Regions from separate parts of the Homo sapiens genome. Here regions 2 and 3 are each linked to region 1. Evidence: promoter capture Hi-C in human tissues and cell types (Jung and others, 2019). All regions are on one chromosome and are shown on one strand. Each heading gives the region's core, a stretch centred on a gene start or on the middle of the fragment in contact. The rest is flanking DNA. Distances are from core to core; before and after follow the strand shown. Region 1 holds the start of ITSN2 (intersectin 2). Region 2 overlaps NCOA1 (nuclear receptor coactivator 1). Region 3 overlaps NCOA1 (nuclear receptor coactivator 1).

Evidence for each region. The method cuts DNA at HindIII sites, captures the fragments that hold promoters and counts their contacts. A contact is called where the count stands out against the background at its distance.
Region 2: a contact is called between a fragment that was not itself captured here and the fragment with the promoter of ITSN2 in region 1, in 2 of the 25 tissues and cell types used here (psoas muscle and spleen).
Region 3: a contact is called between a fragment that was not itself captured here and the fragment with the promoter of ITSN2 in region 1, in 3 of the 25 tissues and cell types used here (dorsolateral prefrontal cortex, spleen and thymus).

The regions. Positions count from the first base shown.
Region 1 is chr2:24,357,735-24,362,627 of GRCh38, reverse strand. It overlaps ITSN2 (intersectin 2), which reads left to right and starts at 2,092. Exons shown (of 40, transcript NM_006277.3): 1 at 2,092-2,324. RefSeq lists an enhancer at 1,659-1,808 and silencers at 1,909-2,208, 2,219-2,268, 2,279-2,678. The HindIII fragment of the contact is 6,107 bases long and covers 1-3,513 here.
Region 2 is chr2:24,611,951-24,616,843 of GRCh38, reverse strand. All of the region lies in intron 3 of NCOA1 (nuclear receptor coactivator 1), which reads right to left. Among named protein-coding and RNA genes, the nearest start is that of NCOA1, 120 kb to the right of the region's middle. RefSeq lists an enhancer at 3,449-3,498. The HindIII fragment of the contact is 5,058 bases long and covers 1-4,413 here.
Region 3 is chr2:24,496,338-24,501,230 of GRCh38, reverse strand. The region is part of intron 1 of NCOA1 (nuclear receptor coactivator 1); the gene reads right to left. Among named protein-coding and RNA genes, the nearest start is that of NCOA1, 7.5 kb to the right of the region's middle. The HindIII fragment of the contact is 5,514 bases long and covers 1-4,893 here.

The DNA of each region.
Region 1 (4,893 bases), core at 843-3,342:
GGGGCTTTGACTCTCAAATATGGGCTCCAAAAGAGCATATCAGTTAACTGGTGAAGGGTGCAATGGGAATGAGGCCACGTGCTCAAGATTGCTATCCTTGGCCTGGGTGGTTTGTTTGCAGATAAGGACAGATTGGCTGGTCCCCAGCAAGTGAGGGGCCTCCTAGACTGATAAAAGAGTCAGGCTTCTCTGTGTCACTGAAGCTCAGGACCTGTCTGTCAGGTCTTGGTCAGGTTCTAATCGAAGAGTTAGGAAAAACACTGAGTGTGAGAGCGGGAAAAGCCTGTTTATCATCATCGATGTTTGGTAAATTCCTCCTAAGCTGGCTGGCCAGTTCAGATAGGCCTGGGTTTGGAGCCATCTCACCTTCACCTGCCTCAACAGGTAAGGAATGAAAGGATGCCAGGGGTTATTTGATCTACACAGATCAAATCAAGGGATATGAGTTTTGGACCCCAGACCAGCCCTCACCCTGCTTCTAAAAGCCAAAATAAATCTTGGGTCTTGGCCGGGCGTGGTGGCTCACGCCAATCCCAGCACTTTGGGAGGATGAGGCGGGTGGATCACCTGAGGTCAGGAGTTTGAGACCAGCCTGGCCAACATGGTGAAACCAGTGTCTACTAAAAATACAAAAATTAGCCGGGCGTGGTGGCAAGTGCCTGTAATCCCAGGTACTTGGAAGGCTGAGGCAGGAGAATTGCTTGAACCTGGGAGGCGGAGGTTGCAGTGAGCACAGATCTCACAGTTGCGCCACTGCACTCCAGCCTGGGCAACGGAGTGAGAGTCTGTCTCAGGAAAAAAAAAAAAAAAAAAAAAAAAAAAAAAAGAAATCTTGGGTCTTATATCCAAAAATCTTGAGTCTTACATTTGGTTACTTTTTTTTTTTTGAGACAGAGTTTCGCTCTTGTCGCCCAGGCTGGAGTACAGTGGTGCAATCTCTGCTCACTGCAACCTCCGCCTCCCAGGTTCAAGCGATTCTCCTGCCTCAGCCTTCCGAGTAGCTGGGACTACAGGCGCCCGCCACCACGCCCAGCTAATTTTTGTATTGTTAGAAGAGGCGGGGTTTCACCATGTTGGCCAGGCTGGTCTCCAACTCCTGACCTCAGATGATCCACCTGCCTCGGCCTCCCAAAGTGCCGGGGTTACAAGCGTGAGCCACTGTGCCAGGCCGACATTTGGTTACGTTCATTAGGAAACACTAACTCCTCCCTCACCCCAATCAAAAGAAAGCCTTTCCCCTTGAAGAAGCTTCTTGTCAAGGGCAAACCTTTGGGGTTTTGGGATACGGTGGCGGCTTGAGTTGAAGTCTGGTCTTTTGTGAGGAGACCAGGAACCGGGAGGGGAGAAAAGAGACAAATTCTGAGTAGGAGCTTCGCCTGTCCCTTGGCGAGGGGTGGGGAGGAAAGTTTAGCTTCGTCGTGCTATGCTCTATGGGGACAGAGTCTTCCTACTGCTCGGCGGAGTGTGACTAGCGTAGAGGGTGCTCCTCGTGGGCGCTCCGCGTGTGTTATGGAGGAGGGCGAGGAATGGTGAATGGATGACCGAGGGTATGGTTAAGTCCTCCAGGTCCCTGAGAAGGGTTCAAGAGGCCTGTAACAGACCCATGGGCAAGGGTGGGATCAACCTCCTTCCCACCTTCCACCCCCCAATTCCCAGAGAATTCGTTCCCCCAGATCAGTGGAGAAAACTTCGGCGAGTGAGAAGGTTCCAGGGAGAACCCCGTGGTGGGTGCAACAGGGATGTGGCAGGCACTGCTTGGGACTTTCCAAAACCCCGGCGTCTGCCGTGGCAGGAAAAGCACCACCCAAGCTCAGCATGTTACCTCGGGGAGGAGGAGCCAGGTGGGTCTGTGCAACTCCAGGAAGGGCTGCCAGGTCTGGGGCTTCGGGGCCTCCCCGAGGGCAGAGAGGAGCGCTTCGGACCCGACCGACTCGGAGCAGACCTTCAGGGTTCAATGCCCCGGAACTCCTGGGGCGAGGAGCCACGCCCGGGCAGTTTCGGGCTCCGGAGGGTGGGGAGTCGGTGCCCGGCAGCGGGCGGGCCGTCAGCTGCCCGGCCCGGCGCCTACCTCCCCGCCCCCCGGCTTCCTGCGGAGGCCGCGGCCGCCATGTTGTTGTGGGGCTGAGGCGGCGCCGGCGGAGCCCTGAGCGGCTGTGACAGGCTACGCAACAGGTTCGCGGGCGGCGGCCTGACGACCAAGCCAGCTGCAGTGGCGGCGACGGCGGCAGAGCAGGGTCTCCCCGCGCCTGCCCGCGCCCAGGCTGCCGGTGCTGAGGGACGCGGAGTCGCGCTGTGACGAGCGGGAGGCGCGGCGAGGGCGCCAGGTGGGTGAAGCCGCTAGCGGGGCTGCAGCAAGGCGCGGGGCAGGTGCGGGCGCCGCGCCCGCTGCCCGGAGGCTCTGCGGGTCGGGCTGAGGCGGCTGTGCGCTCCGCACGATGGGGACGGGTCCTCGGGAGTACGGGCGGCCCCCGAGCTAGGCCCCTGGCGGGCTCGGCCGTGCGGGGCGGAAACCTCCGGCCCCGGGTTCCTTCCTCTGCTGCCGGGCCGGGACAGACGCCGAGGGGGCCTGGGCTGGGCTGCCCCTTCCTTGCGGCCGAGCCCGGGTCCCTGGCCGCGGCCTCGTCTGGCAGGTGGCGGACGCCGGCGAGGGTCGGGGGTGGCGTGGCCCCCTCGCTTTCGGGGTGTGAGCAGAAGAGAGCTCTGGGGGCACCCGCACGCCTCCTCGGGGACCCATTTTATTTTCGCGGAGTTGGTTTTCCTTCCTGGCAAGGGTTGGTGCCGAATGTCAGGTGAGCCGCATCCCGGTGCGTCAAAGTAGCCCGAGTCACGAGAGGACAGTGGGCGGATGCTTGGCGTCTACCGCTCGCGTTCCTCCGGAGTTGGAAATGTTAAATTTACCTTCAGCGTTATTGACTTCCAGAATATACAGGAAGCACCGAGAGATGTAATCTCTCAGGCCAGATAAAGTTTATTTGTGTATTTATTTATTTATTTTTAAAGACGTCTGCATATGCATAGTGAGTGGGTAAACCGAGGCTGAAACTGCAGATGGCTTTGTATTCTATAGAAAGATGCTCCGTTTGGATTTATTAATTATGCGCCTTGTCGCTCTAGAATTACCAATGGCAAGTGTGCTTTATTTGAAACTTGTGTTAATACTGAAATAGGAATATTTTTTGATGGAGCCAACCCCTTTACGATAGGAATTAAGGTTAGCATAGAAATGACTTGCTTTGCTCCATGCTTCTAGTTTGTCTCACTAGTGTTTGCTTGCTTACTCAGAAATAGGCAAGGTGTGACTTGAAATTTTACGTTGTTAGTGAGCTCAGTTTAGGTAGCATAGCTCTTGTAGTTTAAAGCTTCTTAAGCGTTTCGAAAAATTGCCTCTCTCCCTGTGCTGGTTTGCTATATTGTTAATCAGTGATAAAACCTAAAAGCTACCTAGAAACATCGCATAAAACATTTACGCGAATTAATAATGACGTCCTTCCAAATTTAAAGATACTGACAACTCTGATGTGTTTTCCTTTAGCTTTTTTTGGCTGTGCCTGTGACTCTCTTGTAATTTCAAAAGTAAATAAAGTGGATGTATTTTATGTTTTTGAAAACGTGGAAAAAATGTGCATTGCTGCTATTTTGATGTAATATTAATAAGCAGTTGAAAAGCTTGCATTTTTTCACCCTTCCATGCATTGATAACTATTCCCTGTGCCCACCTTTGTAATGAAAGGTAAACTCGTCCAAGAAAACTTGACCTGTACAGAATTACTAAGCAGGGAGTTACCATTGTTCGGTACATCTCAAGGCTAAAATCTTGATCTCTCCTGAATATGAGGAGGTGTGTTAGGCATGTTTTGGGGATTGGATTAATAGTGTTAAAAAATTTGTATTTTCACAAAAATAGCATGTACCCATCACCCAAACTCAGCAGCTTTCAAGAAGCTTTTCTTTTTTTCTTTCTTATTTTAAAAAATCCTTTAACCTTATGTAGTTAGTATATCTTTTTTAAAAAGTAGAAAATCATGTAACCTTAGGATTTTTAGTTTTAATGTAGAGTTTCACAAATTTCCATCTTTAGTAAGACAAAAGGGTCACATATTGGCTGTCTCCTTCAACTATACTTTCTTCAGTATAAAATATGTTTACCATGGTTGTCATTTATCGAGCACGTAACTGCATGTTAGACTCTATGCTAAGTGTTTTACATAATCATTTAAAGCTCACTAAGGCCCTAGGAGTAATTATTATCTTCCCATCAAAAAGGTAAGTGAAATGTTAACCTGAAGTTTGACTACTTTAGGTCTCTGAGCTAGTAAGTACAATAGCCAGGTTTCAAACCAAGATCCTTTTAACTGCAGCACCTGTGCCTTATCTGGTAGAGTCATCTTGGTTCATACATTTAAAAAAGAGTTATCTATGTGCCGGGTGCCCTGGCTCATGCCTGTAATCCCAGCACTTTGGGAGGCCGAGGAGGGCGGATCACCAGGTCAGGAGTTTGAGACTGACCAATAAGGTGAAATCCTGTCTCTACTAAAAAATACAAAAAATTAGCCTGGCATGGTGGCGTGCGCCTGTAGTCCCAGGTACTCAGGAGGCTGAGGCAGGAGAATCGTTGAACCCGGGAGGCGGAGGTTGCAGTGAACCGAGATCGCACCACTGCACTCCAGCCTAGGCGACAGAGTGAGACTCCGTCTCAAACAAAAAAAAGAAAAAAAAAGTTATATGGGCATTCAGTAAAAAATATGTGTTTAGTGAATGAGTGAAAGTACATATTAGTCCATTAAGTAGCATTTTTACATATTGTATTTACTTGTAAAACATTTATATTAACAAGTTCCAGAAATGATTCAGAATAAACGAGTTACATTACCAAAAATGTGATATATTTATTAC
Region 2 (4,893 bases), core at 635-3,134, 250 kb before region 1:
TCAGGGATTAAGAGCTTAAGTCCCCTAACAACTGTTTTCCAATGTTTCCAAATACCCACACTAACTGCTCTACTTTCCTCAGTTCTAGTCAGGGACTGCTCATGTCCTGAGCAGGACTACAGTACATATAAAAAACTACAGTACTTCTAGGTAGGTGTCATACAGATATGCAAGTAGGAGATCAAAAGTGTACTCTTATATCAAGTCACACTCATCAGGTTACCAAAACATGCAGAACTGCTGCCTCTGTTTTGGGGGTATTTTTAAAGACCAACTTCATTTATTTTCCTATAATCCCCGATATCATTTTATCCATTACAACATCATCTTCCTTCCCCTAGACTCACATTCCTCCCCTTCCAAGAAATTCTTTATTCATTCCCTTTCACTTTTCCCAGTTTTGCCAAAAGAAATGGTATTTCTCTTGCATTTTTAATATGCTATTTTATTGGGAACATTGGAGAAAGATGGAAAGAAATCTCAACTATCAAATCCATACAAGAGCAACAAACGGTATCAAATTAAAACTATGTACTATGGTAACTATGTAACAAATTATTTTTCATCATCTGTGAAAAAGGATGGTAGGAAAAGGGAAATGTGCAAATAGCAGACACAACTCATGATGAAATTCACCCCACATACAAATCATCATTTCCATCCTCTGAAGGTTACTATTCCTTTGTTTCTCTTCTCTCTTCCTCTAATGTATAACCTAATGTGACAATGCTACCAAGTAACAAGCATGTAGACTCCAAAAAGTGCTATTTGATAGAAAATTCAGTATTACATATAAAGAGTGCCATTTTTATTTTACTTTGAAAAATTGTCTGCTTTAGTAAAAACTGAACCTAAAAGTAGGCTCTTAATATTCTAACACTGTCCTTATAAAAGTTTCCTAAGATCCCTGATCTTTTCATAAATGTTGGATGAATGGAACACCTTTGTAGTAATGACAAATTTCAGCCAGCCTTTACTTTTCCTCCTATCTGGACTTACTACTCTAATCCCTCACATTCTCATCCTCTTCCCTCTAGAAAGCCATTCCTCATCTGCAATGGTTTGGCTGAGTAACCCTCCTATGTGTCCTAGCATCTAACAAAAAAAGTAACTGTGTATGTATCTATCTGATTATATAGATAAGTTAACTGCAAGCTTCTTGAAAGCAGTGAGACTATGTCTCACTCACCGTTTTATCTCCAGAGCCTAGGACAATGCTTGGCACTTGTTAGATTCTCAACATTGACAGTCAGCATTGGCCCCCACCAGCACCATCGACCAGTACCCATCAGCTATTCCATCAACAACGTCCTAGACTAAGGCTTACTACAATCTCCTGCAGAGAAGCCAACATAACTTCTTAGAGGATTCCTTAAGTTCTGATACTAACCATCTACTGTGTGCCAAGCAATATATTACAGGTTCTATTTTATGTTATTTCTTCAAAAACCCCATGAAGTAAAAATAGTTATCCTCCTTTACCAACAAAATAATAAGAGGTCTGTGATAATTTACTTTCTCATAGCTACTAGTAACAAGCAGTTGAGCAGAGATTCATGCCTAAGTCTATCTGACTGTAAACTGAGGCCATTTCTACTGTGTTATTCTGCTTCCTCAATACCTACACAAAATCAACATAAATACATAATTTATCCAAATATATTTTTCTTGCTATATTCTGTAATGTCACAAACCCTTTGGGAATCAATAAAATTAACTCTGTGAATCACCTGGAAGACTGTAAAGATGGTAGGTTAAGATTACATGCTCTGGAATCAGAATGACTACTTGGATTCAAATAACAATTCTGCTACCCACTAGCTATATAAACTTGAATAATTCAATTTCTCTGTGCTTTGATTTGCTAATCTCTAAAATGGGAATACAAGTGGTAGCTATAGGATTCTTGTGAATAATAAATGACAAGATATGTGAAGGACTTAGAATGGAGCCTAGCATATAACAATATTAATACTAACAGCTAGAATTAGTGCATGCTTACAATATATGTTACCTTATTTTCAATAAACACTAGCTGTTATTATTTAATTATCTAAGTTTACATGAAGAAATAACTTTTTCTATGTCAGTGGTTCTCAGACTTGCAGTGCATCAGAATTATCTAGGAGGCTTTTAAACATACCCACAGGCCCTGCACCCTAGAGATTCTGACATGTAGGTGTGGTTGGGCTTTAGAAACTATTCTTTTGAAAATTTTCCAAGAGGATTCCCACTGCCTGAGATATGAGAATATGCTGGGCTAGAGATCTTAAAACATTTCTATTTTAAACGTCTGATATAAAGAATGAAAATGGGCTAGGTGCAATGACTCATACCTGTAATCCCAGCACTTTGCAAGGCCGAGGCAGGCAGATCACTTGAGCCCAGGAGTTCAAGAGTAGCCTGAACAACATGACAAAACCCTGTCTCTCCAAACAAAACAAAACAAAAACAAAAAAGTAGCCAGGTGTGGTGGTGTATACCTATAGTCCCAGCTACACAGGAGGTTGAGGTGGGAGGATCCCCTGACCCCAGGTGGTTGAGGCTGCATGCAGTCAGCTGTGATCACACCACTGTACTCCAGCCTGGATAACAGAATGAAACCCCATAGCAAAAAAAAAAAAAAAAAAAAAAAAAAAAAAAAGAATGGAAATGAATCGATACAATAGGCAGAAAAGCAAGTAATAAAGCTTCCAGATACTCCTGGGGCATATATGAATCCTAGTAACCTAGGGTTGGAAAGGATTGAGAAAAAAGTTTAGGCCTCTGAAAGTCAGGTAAGACACTATCAGACAAAGACAGGGCCCAAGAAGGACAATAACACCAGGAAAAGGGTAAATTCAAACATTAAAAACACCTTCAAAGGCAAACATCAAAGAAAACCTCTTGGCCTTAGCAAAGACATCATGAGGATTTGGTGCCTGAATCATCTATGCTATGTGAATACTCCTAAAACTCAAAAGTCGGGGTGCAGCAGGACCTTCTCTGCTTCACACCCAGGCAGATCTCCAGGTAACTGGAGCACCCATTCACCGGGATCAGCAGGCTAAGCCAGCCCACTCTCCCCATGCCAAGACCATGGTAAAGCAGGGCACTCTCTGCCCCATTCCCGGGCATAGCTTCAGGCAGTCAGAGGACCCATTTGCATGGATTGCTAGCCTGAGACACCCCATCCTTCCTGTGTAGAGATTGTGGTACAGCAGGGCCCTCTGTACGCAGCACCCAGGCAGATCTCCAGGTACCTGGAGTACCCACTCTCCTGGATTAAGAGTTCAGGCCTCCACCCCTGCCTGTGTAGAGAACTTGGGGCCAAGGAGGTTTGCCAGCTCCATGCCTAGGACCACCTCTGGGTGCTTGGTGGCTGCCCATTGGCTTCTCCCTCAGTGTTAGTGATTGTGCCTGCCATCAGGGGACTGTAGGTGGCCTGGCCCCACTCATCTTGCTTCCCACTCCCCTGGGGCTGAGCAAGTAGCTCAGACCACTGTGCACTCCACGTATCAGCCCAATGCCTGAGGCAACAGAGAGCTTCTTCCTGTAAACAAGTATCAAGTGTATACCTAGTCACACTGGCTACAGCTGGCTAAGTGATCTTACCCGTAAGCGCCATCTACTGGCTTGTAGGTTGAACCCTACAGCCCAATATAAAATCTGCCCAAAGAAGTACATAGGCTATAGAAGCAAAGCCAAAAGATGCTACCCAGCATTCTCTACAATCATATCCCCTAGGGAGTTGGGGAATGGAAAGGGAAAGAAAAAAAAAATATTACAGGGACAGGAACAAAAAAAGAAAAAAATCCTACCTGCATGAAAATAATTACAAAAATCAAAAGTGCCAGTGTCTCCAGATGAGAAGGAACCAGTGCAAGAATTCTGGCCAAACGAAAAATCTGATCGTAGTGACACCACTCAATAATCACACTAGCTCTCCAGCAATGGCCCCTAACCAAAATGGAAACTCAGATATGACAGATAAAGAATTCAAAGCATGAATTACAAGGAAGCTCACTGGGATCCAAAAAAAGGTTGAAAATCAACACAAAGAAACTTCTAAATCATTCTAAGAAATGAAGGAAGCGGTAAATACTTTAAAAAGAAGTCAATCAGAACTTCTGGAATTGAAAACTCACTTAAGGAATTTCAAAATATTAGGGAAAGCTTTATCAATAGACTGGACCAAGCAGAAGAAAGAATTTCAGAGCTTGAAGACTGCCCTTTTGAACTGATCTAGTCAGACAAAAATAAAGAAAAAAGAATTCAAAAAAAAGGAACAAAGTCTTTAAGAAATATGGGATTATGTAAAGCAACCAAATTTACTAATTGCTGGCATTCCTGAGATGGAGAAAAAGCAAACAACCTGGAAAACACATTTGAGGGAATAATTCAAGAAAATTTCCCGAATCTTGCAAGAGAGGTAGACATTCAGATACAAGAAATTCAGAGAACACCTGTGAGATACTACACAAAACAAACATCAATAAGAAATATAATCACAAAACGATTCAAGGTCAAAGCTAATGAAAAAGTCTTAAAGGTAGTCAGAGAAAAAGGTCAGAGGAAATCCCATCAGGCTAGCAGTGGACTTCTCAGCAGAAACTGTATAAGATTGGGGGCCTATTTTCAGCATTCTTAAAGTAATTCCAACCAAGAATTTAATATCCTGCCAAACTAAGCTTCATAAGCAAAGAAGAAATAAAATCTTTTCCAGACAAGCAAGTGCTAGAGAATTCGTTACCACTAGACCAGCCTTAAAAGAGATCTTTAAGGGAATTCTAAACGTGGAAATGAAAGAAAAATAACCTTCTACCACAAAAACACAATTAAGCACACAGCTCACAGACCCTATAAAGCAACCACACAATAGAAACTACAGTGACTAGCTAACAACTTCACAAT
Region 3 (4,893 bases), core at 1,285-3,784, 140 kb before region 1:
CCAAAAGAACTCCATTACTGGGTGCACTGAATAAAACATGATATTCAATTTCCAATCCCATTCACCATTTATGCAAAGGTTTTTGCTAAAATTCAGCTAGTGCATTTCCATACCTTCTGATGGCAATCAGTTGTTCTTATAAACTAATCAGATGGTATTGCCTTTTTGTGTTTTCAGCAGATGGGCTCAAAATCACTAAACAGCTCTTTTAAAAGATTTTTATACAGGTTAGAAAATTCTGTTTCCAAGTTCAAGTATACATATAAAAAAAGCTCTTAAAGTTAACACATATAATTTTCAACAATTAAATTCCATAACAGGAAAAATTCTAAATATCCATTTTCAATATCCTTTCCCTACAGCATTAAATTTTTTGTTGTTGTTCTGAAAGGTAGTTACTTTTTGAATCACTGTTAAGAACTTACCCTATTATCTCAAAGGGGCAGATTAAGTGTGTTTATTTGCTAGGTAACATAGCACTTATAGCCACGTTTCACAAAAAGGACCAACAAACTTGGGACATTTGTCTTTTTGTGAAAAAATACTGAGTAAGTCATCTTTAAGTTAGATCATTCTTAACTCCTCTGCCTCAAGGTGACCACTTAATCTCTATGAAATGGTATTAAAAAGATCTGCATAAGTGATCTCTACTGCAATACAAAATAGTGTTGAGTCTACTATTTAAAATAATAAACCTAAAAATCCAGTTACCCAAGCCCCTGTAAACTACAAACCACCACAACAGACTGAAAGAGAAGAAACATCTTCACAGACCTCTAGTATTTCTTCCATTTTGCGGATAATTTAATGTTAAGAAACTACTGGCCAGGCGCGGTGGCTCACGCCTGTAATCCCAGCACTTTGGGAGGCCAAGGCGGGCGGATCACCCGAGGTTGGGAGTTCAAGACCAGCTTGACCAACATGGAGAAACCCCGTCTCCACTAAAAATACAAAATTAGCCAGGCATGGTGGCACATGCCTGTAATCCCAGCTACTAGGGAATCTGAGGCAGGAGAATCACTTGAACCTGGGAGGTGGAGGTTGCAGTGAGCCGAGATCGCGCCATTGCACTCCAGCCTGGGCGACAAGAGCGAAACTCCTTCTCAAAAAAAAAGAAAGAAAGAAAGAAAAAAAGAAACTACCGGGCTAAAAGTGCCTGGGGTCCCAAGAGTTAAGGCTCTTTATCAGCCTACCCAGCAGGGATACTTGAAGGGATACTTCCAGCCAATTTCTGTTGTATGCTATCAAGGTTTAAAGGACTTATCTTTAAAGGTACCCCAATTACACTGTATCATCTCTGAATTACTACCAGTTTGGCAAAAGACACACCACAGCACATTCAGTGACACTAGTTGTCTTCAACACTGTTCCCTCCGTGTAACGAGTAACGTTGGCTAGGGGCATCAGTCAAATAATAGACAGGGCTGGAACAAGGTCCAAGACTCCTCAAGACACATCCTGCCTTAAATCCTTTTTGGAACATGGCAAGGCATAAATAAATCAGTAAAATAAATCATGAACTATAAATGAGAGCCAGGGGCTTCCAACTTGTATGACCAATCTCATTTATACAGTCAGATACACTTATATTTATACAAAGAGACATTTTTACACCGAACAAACAAGTCCACTGCATCATCTTAAAAAATGCCAAGTGATAATACACTGTTTAAAAGAATACTTACTGCTTAAAAAAAAAAGTCAATGGTATGAAATAGAAGATAAAATGGAAAAGAAGTACACTAAGAACAATATAAAGCACATTTAGAGGGCATGAAATTAGATCTGATAAACAAAGGGCCATAGAACAATGCTGGAGGAATGTTGGAATATTGCAATCCTGGTTGGTCCAAAATTCATCTATATATTTAATAAACTCAAATCAACATCTAAGAATCACTGGGAGGTTAAAATTTTTTTTTAAGGTTGATGGCAGGATTTTCCTTATCAGTAACAATATATAAAACAGTAAGGAACTGCCACATATTAAATAGATGTATCTATTTTTGGAATAAAGAAATGCAGAATCAGAAAAAAGGGAGTATAGAAACATCAAAATGTAGACTTCAAAATAGTAGGGAATTATTAAAATGAATATGTTAATAAATTATGTTGGATCAACTGGCTAACTCTTGGGCAAGTATCATGCAATATGCATATCTCATATCACATGTAGGTTAAGGCATAATTCATAATCAAAAGTAAAAAACAAAAAAGTTAATTCGAAAAAAGTATAAGGCAGTGAAAAAGATTTTGTACCAACTTCTATTCAAAAAAAAAACCATATAATCTGTGTTTAAATATACATAAAAATGAGTGAATAAGTTCCCAATGTGGGTAAGCCTTACATATGGAATCATTTCAAAAACAAAAAATATGAAATTTGGGGTATAAAACCTGCCAAGAAAAGATCCACGTAAATTTGGAAAATTGACATTTCTCATTTTCATCCATATCTACATACTTACTACATACTGCTCCCCACCACCTCCCTCCATTAAAATCCACCAATGTTTTCTTACTACACCTAGACGATATGCTTCCCTCTCCCACTTCAGCTGATGCCACACTCCTTGCACTTTCCCCTGCATTACTCCGTCTTTTCATCTTTGCTATTTAATCTTCCTGAACATACTGTTCTCCTTGTCTCTATTCTTAAAGAAATCATCCCCTGCCCTCAATGCTTTTGTCTACCACCAAGTCCTCCATAAAACTTGCCCTGATTTTTCTCAAATGAAAATACAATAATCATTCCCTCTCCCTGAATGTTCAAAGCACTGTTTCAGGACCTGTCTCACAGCACTCATCACATTCAATTACTATTATAGGTATTTGTATGTTTGTCTTATCACCTCTCTCAGGTCATAATCTGCTTAAGAACAGGATCTATATTTTATCGGTTAATTTCCCAATAACCACTATCTTTTTACAGCACAGCACCTTGAACAAAGTACGTACTCATATAACTACGTCTTGACCGAATGATTGAGTAGCTACTTAGAAATTCAATTACAGACTACCTGTACCATTTAGAATGGAGAGGGAGATATTAGACATTGCAGAACAAATAACTTTTTGTTTCTTACAAACAAATTCACCAAAGTAAAGTCAATATTACACATACAGATGTTTTCAAAACTCAAGGACATTTCATCCTTCAACTATCTGGTCAAATATGATGTGATATGTTTATATACATACATACATTCACAATAGAATACCTACTGTTAAATAATCAAATCTATGCTTGATAATAAAAGTATGTAAATGTTTTAACTATATAGGCAAACTGGAATTTTAAGATAAAATCAACCATTCAAATTACAAGTGGAAACACAGAGAATGACCAAGCAATTTGTTCCAAAAAAATAAAAACAAAACCAAACCACACTAAGCTTTAGCTATTTAAATACCAACAAAACTTGAGAGGCAGAATTTTATGGCTAAGAATCCAAAACCAACCAAAGATAACCTTACCTGGATAGAAGCACCAAAGAATCAACATTACTGAAGTACAAAGGTGAGACCAGAAACAGCACAAGAATCTTTTTTTTTTTTTGAGATGGAGTCTCGCTCTGTCACCCAGGCTGGAGTGCAATGGCGCGATCTCGGCTCACTGCAACCTCCGCCTCCCTGGTTCAAGCAATTCTTCTGCCTCAGCCTCCTGAGTAGCTGGGACTACAGGCTTGCGCCACCACACCCGGCTATTTTTTGTATTTTTAGTAGAGACAGGGTGTCACCATATTGGCCAGGTCTCGAACTCCTGACCTCATGATCTGCCTGCCTTGGTCTCTGAAAGTGCTGGGATTACAGATGTGAGCCACCACGCCCAGCCCACAAGAATCTTAAAGTGACATTTTCATCAAGTAACTGGTATATATGGCTCCCGGGTCATCAGAAAGGAACAAGACTGCAGGAGTCTCCACAACACAGGTATTCAAGAGAAAGAAAGTCCAGAAAGAAAAAAAAAAAAGTATAATGTGGCCAAGTGTGACGAACATGCTTGAAGAGAAGCCAATTGAAAGGTATGAATATGATTTCCACTCAGTAGGCTTGAACTCAAATGTCATCCCTAACACCTATAAGCTGTGCAATCTTACGCCAGCCACTTAACTTCCCTGAGCCTTGTTTCCTCATTTATAAAATGTAATATGTAGAGCTAGCACAGTACCTGGCTCAGAGACAACACTCAATAAATATTTGCTGACTATGAATGAGGGCCTTACAAGAAAAGCAGACGTTTTTCTACAGGTACTTTTGTAGTTTTTGAGAAAACGGTCTTAATTAATTCCTAATTAATACCTTTTTACAATATTTGAGAGTCATATTTTGGTCAAAAAATAAAAATGCTCCTTTCCTCCTAGCTTACACATTACTCAAAAGCTTACAGGAATTCTTATTATTTAAAATATCTTTGTAATATTGTAACTTTAAATACAAAAAGTAACTCTCATAAAGAAACCCTATTCCCAACTACATCTGCATGGACTTAGTCTGCTCAGCTGTAATATTAAGAAGGCTGTCCTAAATGATCATTTAAGGCTCTTTAACTCTAAATGTTGTAGTTCCTGGCATCTCAAGCGTTTTCCAATCTGTTTAGGAAAACCAATCAACACACACTAAAAAGAGAATCTCTCTCAAAAGAAAGAGAGAGAAAGAGAAGTTTATTATACAGAACAGAGTACCTAATGCTAAGGGAGTGATAAAAATCAAGCTTTCTTGAAAACATACCAGCTTTGATGCTGTTTTTGAAGGTCACGAGAACATAAAGGAAATCCAATTTAAATGAAGAAAATGGAACATGTAAAAGCAAAGACGCAAGATATCTATGATTATCATAATACTTTCTTCATTGCGTAGCACTTTACAGTTTGCGAAGTATTTCTGCATATG